2 separate regions of the Homo sapiens genome follow, and region 2 is linked to region 1. The links are contacts of gene promoters, found by promoter capture Hi-C in human tissues and cell types (Jung and others, 2019). All regions are on one chromosome and are shown on one strand. Each heading gives the region's core, a stretch centred on a gene start or on the middle of the fragment in contact. The rest is flanking DNA. Distances are from core to core; before and after follow the strand shown. Region 1 holds the start of MAP7 (microtubule associated protein 7). Region 2 overlaps MAP7 (microtubule associated protein 7).

Region 1 (3,068 bases), core at 429-2,928:
GAAAGTTTATTTTTGAGCACAAACTAACACTTAGCTCGCTAGAACAATGTTGTTTCACATGCAGTTACTGGGTCAGGGTTAGGAACGAAAATCATGCCGTATATTTACAAATGAGGATGCTCCTCTCCCGGGGCCCTCACTTGGGGGAGCCCCGTCCCAGCGTCTAGCTCATCAAATTCCCGAAAGCAATTACAAAGGCATCTCTTCTCCACCCCAAAACAAAATAATGATCTACCAATCTTGCGAACACATTAAGACAAACTCCCTACAGGAAGGAGCATGACTTAAACAAGTTCAAGATACTTTGTCAGTCTTAACCTCAGGTATCTTGGCTGAAGGGATTAAATCATTAGACTTTACGTACCCAACCTCTTCCTAGCAATAGCAGATACATAATTTGCAAATACTGTTTCAGAGCTCTCTGGACCTTTCACGTTAAAATAAGCATACTTGATGGTGGGGAGACAGTGATTCTTACATTTAGGAAACAAATGCTTCCGATTGTGACCGTATGGAAGTGGAAAACAGCTTGCAATTGGAGAGTCTAAGAATTGAATTTCTTTTTAAAGTAAGAAACTGCCTCACTGCCCCCATCCCCAAGTGTAGGAAGATATAGAAACAGCTTACTGGCCAAGAATAGAAGAGGGAACCAGTGGAGAGGGACGGATTTGCAAGATAGCCTCTGGAGAAAAAAAAATCACGAGGGAGAAAAATCGGCTTCATACTATGGAGAGATGGGCGGGGTTGGGAAGCCTTGCTGCTGGTCTTGGGAAGCCTTGCTGCTGGTCTTGGGGACGTGATCCCCTGTCCCTAAGTGTGCCCCTGGAGGTTGTGGGGGAGGGGTATCCTCAACACAGAGGCCTGACCACCAAATCCCGGGCTGCAGAGCCAACAATCCTCCTTTGGGCTCCTGCACAGACTAAAAACAAAAAACTCTGAGAACTCCGACAAGTCAACGAAAGTCTGATCCCGTCAAGCCCGCACTCGCAAACCCCCACCGTGCTGCACTGGGCCCCGGCCCTCCCGAGCTCGGTCCCCTCGGACGACGGTCGTCGCCACTGCGGGCACCAGATTGGGGGGCGGGCCGCTCACCCCGCGGTCCTGCCCCACACCGACCCCGCTGAGGAGCCCCCGGCACCCGGGGCGACCAGGGAAGGCGGGAGGAGGTGCCCAGAAACTGCTCGTCCTGCCAGTCGCACCTGGCCGACGACTCTCTGGCCACTGGTTTGGTCTGGGGGATACGATTTCCCATTCAACTGAATTAGACCCGAGGCCGCGGCGGGGAGGGCAGCGGCCGGGGTCTCTCCGTTTCCTCCCCCGGCTCGCCTCCACCTGTTGCGGGAAAGTCGCGGTGGAGCGCCCGAGGGCGGCCGCAACCCCGGCCGGGGCCGAGCCGGGCTGGCCGAGCCGCGGCGGCGAAGGGCGGGGGAAGGCGCTCTCGGAGCAGGGTGCGCGGCGCGCAGGGCCGGTTGTTCCGGGCCGCGGCCGCGCGGGCGGGGAGGGGGCTGCCGGCGCCGGGTGATTTCGGTGCCAGCCCGCCGGCCCCGCTCGCCGTCCCCTGCCCGACGGGACCCCCACTATCCCCGCTGTGCGGTCACCTGTTTCGCTTCGCACTGCGCCGTCGCCGCCCCTGTGGCCGTCGCCGCCAGCTCCTAGCTCCGCCATGGTGCTCCGATGACGCGCCCGGAGAGCCGCTCCGCCCTTTCCTCGGCTTGGCTCCCGCCGGCCCCCGCCTCCCAGGCCAGCGGCCCAGACAGGTGAGCGCAGTCCGGGGATGGCGGAGGGCGGGGACAGAGAGCGCGGCAGTCGGCTGCGGCCTGGGCCTGGCGCGCCCCCTCGCGGGCAGGTGCGGCGTGGCAGCCGCTCCGACCGCCGCTGCCGAGTCTCGGCTGGAAGAGCGGCGGGCGGAACCAGTACCTCAGTCCGGAGCTTCCGGTCGCCGCGGCCGACCAGCTGAGGGCTCCCGGAGATATGGAGCGGGGTCAGCGAGGCCTGGTGGCGCCTCCTGGAGTCTGGGACGAGCGGCGGTCCGAGGAGCAGCCCAGGTGGGGCGAGGGTACGGAGACGCTATTTCCCTCCGAACTCTGAAGTAGCCAGGTCAGTGTCGGCTCCGCGAGGGCTGGAGTTCACGGTGACAGCCGGCAGAGCATCTGATGCCACGTGGAGAGGCGAAGTACATGGGTCGGATTCCACGCTGGGAGCCGGCCTGGATCTGCGCTTTAGGAAGCCACTGCGGGCGACCCTATCTTGTCGCCAGGACTTCGCATCTGATGAGCCTCAGGGCACACAAGTTAGAGAGGCTTGTGCCGGCTGATGTGGCTTTTCTTTTTCTTAGTTTCCGTTTAGTAAACGACCTTGTGACTTCTGGCTTGCTCAGGAAGACCAGAAAAAAAGGCAATAGGTAACGAATTTTTCTTTTTTTAAAGAAACAGATTATTGGCCGAGGAAAAACCAATTTCGCTCTAAAGGATAAGCAACAAAATACTGAGGGGGGAAAAAGCCTACACAAATGGAAACATACGGCACAAAATCAAGGAGCGACCAGTTCCGCATGGTTACACTAAAATGCACTGCACTCCCACTCTCTGGCTTGGCTGAAGATAACCAGCAAGCTCTGAACAGTTTAAAAGCCTTCCAAGGACTGCAGCAGCACTGGACACACAAGAGAGTCGAGAACAGTATTGGATTTATTGTTAGGGTTACAATTTTCACGATCTTTGCATGCAAAACTTGCCACTCTGAGCCCAGTGAACTATTTTTATTTGGTTTACTTACTGGCTTTCTGGATGACTAGGTAGAGCTTTAACTAAAGAACACTTCTGCTGTGGTCTGTGATGATGAATTTTCCCGTAGTGTCATTTCTATAATGGAATAGGCAAACTGACCATTTAGAATGTGATATTCCTAAATCACATTCAAATCAGTCTTATCAGAGACTTCTAATCAATAAAAATAAAGCACCAGATGGCTAGAGGTAGTTTTTGACCTCAGCTTGGGCCTCAGCAAAGATTTTTTGTGTTTTTTTTAACTACATTAAAACATCAGAGTTTAAGACACTTTTCTTTGAG
Region 2 (3,326 bases), core at 187-2,686, 150 kb before region 1:
GATGGAAAAGTAAAAATATTTTGTAGGTCTTAGAGCATTTGTGTGGGAAATACTAATTAGTTTCATTTAATAGTCAAGAAACAGGAATGAAAATGTAATCATTAATAGAATGGAAAAGTTTAGCACACCTTTCAAATTATTAAAGATAACCATGGAATGAATGGTACTTACATCAAACCAACCCCTACCTCTACACCACCAGCCCTGCCCCTCCTACAAAAAAGTTTTTTTTTCTTTTTTAAAAAAAGGGGAAAATAGGCTGGGTGTGGTGGCTCACGCCTGTAATCCCAGCACTTTGGGAGGCTGAGGCGGGCAGATCACGAGGTCAGGAGATCGAGACCATCCTGGCTAACACAGTGAAACCCTGTCTCTACTGAAAATACAAAAAATTAGCCAGGCGTGGTGGTGGGCGCCTGTAGTCCCAACTACTAGGGAGGCTGAGGCAGGAGAATCACTTGAACCTGGGAGGCGGAGGTTGCAGTGAGCCAAGATTGCGCTACTGCACTCCAGCCTGGGCAACAGGGCGAGACTCTGTCTCAAAAAAAAAAAAAAAAGAGTTGGGGGAAACAACATTTTTTAAAAAAAGCCAGATGGACTAAAATCAAGCCTATTAAGACTTTTAGAATGGGTTAAAAACAAAAACACCTAGCTATGTTGTTTAAAAGAAACAAAACTAAAACAAAGCGTCAAATAACACTAAAATAATGAGCAAATGGCTATCAGGCAAATGAAAACAAAAATGTAATAACTGTGGGACTATTGCTACCAGAAAAAATAGAACTGAAGATCAAATGAGGAAAAAGACCCAAAGAAGTGAAATGATGCTTCCAAGATCAGCACATGGTCTAAAAGAAAACAGCTGGGATTTTCATTCAGCTCTGACTCGAAAGCTTGTACTCAGTCACTCTACAATATTGCCTCTATATTCACTTCTGCATGCTTCTAATTTCCACCTGAATTTCTCAGTCAGATCCATCATATAATCTTATTCATTATCTGCACATTCTTCCCTGCTCCAAACTGGAACTTTCTTTGTCTTCCGTATTCTGATAGCAGATTCCTGAGACCAAATGGTCTATAAAGTTAGTCACTTCAAGTCTTCCACAATGTTTCCCTCATGCATGGTGCACCCTAACTCAACACATCCATATAATTGGTCCCATCAATTGTTGTATCAGAATGATCTCTCAGCTGGGTGCAGTGGCTCACACCTGTAATCCTAACACTTTGGGAGGCCAAGGTGGGAAGACTGCTTGAGCTCAGGAGTTTGAGACTAGCATGGGCAACATAGCAAGACCCCCATCTCCACAAAAAAGAAAGAAAAATTATCTGGACTTGTTGGCACATGCCTGTAGTCCCAGGTACTTGGGAGGCTGAGGCAGAAGGGTCCCTTCAGCCCAAGAGTTTGAGGATGCAGTGAGCTATGATTGCACCACTGCACTCCATCCTGGGTGACATGTTTATTGAGGCACTATTCACAATAGCAAAGACTTGGAACCAACCCAAATGTCCATCAATGATAGACTCGATTAAGAAAATGTGGCACATATACACTATGGAATACTATGCAGCCATAAAAAAGGATGAGTTCTTGTCCTTTGTAGGGACATGGATAAAGCTGGAAACCATCATTCTGAGCAAACTATCGCAAGGACAGAAAACCAAACACCGCATGTTCTCACTCATAGGTGGGAACTGAACAATGAGAACACTTGGACACAGGATAGGGAACATCACACACCTGGGCCTGTCGTGGGGTGGGAGGAGGGGAGAGGGATAGCATTAGGAGATATACCTAATGTAAATGATGAGTTAATGGGTGCAGCACACCAACGTGGCACATGTATACATATGTAACAAACTTGAACGTTGTGCACATGTACCCAAGAACTTAAAGTATAATTAAAAAAAAAAAAAGAAACCCTGTCTCTAATGTAAAAAAACAGAAAAACACAGAATGATCGCTTGAATCTGCTGTAGCCTCTCCAATCTTTTTACCACTACTTTAAACTCTCATTCCTTTCTCATGCCTCATTTCTAGTCTTTAACCACTTCAAATCCATCCTACACATTAGTCGTCTCAGAGATATCTTCCTCAAGAAACAGACCTGAAGTCATTGTCGTGCTTGAAAACCTGTTAGTTCTCCTACTGTTCCCTGTCCAACCCCTTGGACTGGCCATAGGATCATGCATCTTCACACACACCTCCTTCCCCCTGGCAAACTTCTGTCTTTCAAGTCCTAGCTCAGAAGCTCCTTCCTCTGAGGAGCCTTTCCTGATGACCACAGCACAGGAGCCCCATCTGCTAGCTGGATTCAGACTCCCTCATAGCACTTACACTCCAGACGGTAGCTACTCTGCTTTTATGTGTTTGTGAATTCTTCCCTATACACACAATGTCTAGTCTAGCAGATGGTTAAAATATGCTTGAATAAATGAACTAAAGAGTTAAAGGACAGAGTGATCTCCAAGCATAGTGATTCACACTGGGCTTTGGTGACAACTCAAAGCCTTCTCAACTTGTCATTAAAAGCATTCAGTGGAGAGCTGCCTGATAAGAAGTGTGACCTTGGAGGATCCCCACAACACGGTGCTCCTGCACAGAGGGTCCTTCCCATTTCACCCTGTCACTGCACACAGTGGTGGGCTAATGGGGTTGAGGTGCTAGAATAGTAGTTACATAGGTGGAGATCAAGAGCTTTTCTTATATGTAGGCTGAATGATTTTTCAAATAAGAAAGGACTTACTGCCGGGCACGGTGGCTCACGCCTGTAATCCCAGCACTTTGGGAGGCCGAGGCCGGCGGATCACGAGGTCAGGAGATCGAGACCATCCTGGCTAACACGGTGAAACCCCGTCTCTACTAAAAATACAAAAAATTAGCCGGGTGCGGTGGCGGGCGCCTGTAGTCCCAGCTACTCGGGAGGCTGAGGCAGGAGAATGGCGTGAACCTGGGAGGCGGAGCTTGCAGTGAGCCGAGATAGCGCCACTGCACTCCGGCCTGGGCGAAAGAGCAAGACTCTGTCTCAAAAAAAAAAAAAAAAAAAAAAAAAAAAAAAAAAAAGAAAGAAAAAGAAAAAGAAAGGACTTACTATCTCAGGGCTAGGCCTAAAGGAATGTTAGCCTTCACTAAAATAATGGAGTTTTGCTAAACAGGGCAATGGTTGTCCTTGGAATCTTTCTGTTACAGCCTTAACCCTAAGTACTTTCACTCCTCAAAGAATGTAGCCATTCTCTTCACCTGGGGCTGTCCTACTTAGCCCCACCCTAATGGATGAGGAGGCACAGACATCCCCCACCTCTCTCTGCTACGCCTTAGGCTTCTC

Evidence for each region. The method cuts DNA at HindIII sites, captures the fragments that hold promoters and counts their contacts. A contact is called where the count stands out against the background at its distance.
Region 2: a fragment that was not itself captured here is called in contact with the fragment with the promoter of MAP7 in region 1 in 1 of the 25 tissues and cell types used here (hippocampus).

Annotation. Positions count from the first base shown.
Region 1 is chr6:136,548,744-136,551,811 of GRCh38, forward strand. MAP7 (microtubule associated protein 7) reads right to left here and starts at 1,679. Exons shown (of 18, transcript NM_003980.6): 1 at 1,599-1,679. The coding sequence starts at 1,665. It overlaps MAP7-AS1 (MAP7 antisense RNA 1), which reads right to left. Exons shown (of 1, transcript NR_186370.1): 1 at 1,980-3,068. RefSeq lists enhancers at 515-1,053, 1,592-2,129 and silencers at 1,351-1,400, 1,411-1,590, 1,631-1,980. The HindIII fragment of the contact is 8,644 bases long and covers 1-3,068 here.
Region 2 is chr6:136,399,878-136,403,203 of GRCh38, forward strand. All of the region lies in intron 3 of MAP7 (microtubule associated protein 7), which reads right to left. Among named protein-coding and RNA genes, the nearest start is that of BCLAF1, 110 kb to the left of the region's middle. The HindIII fragment of the contact is 5,402 bases long and covers 1-3,326 here.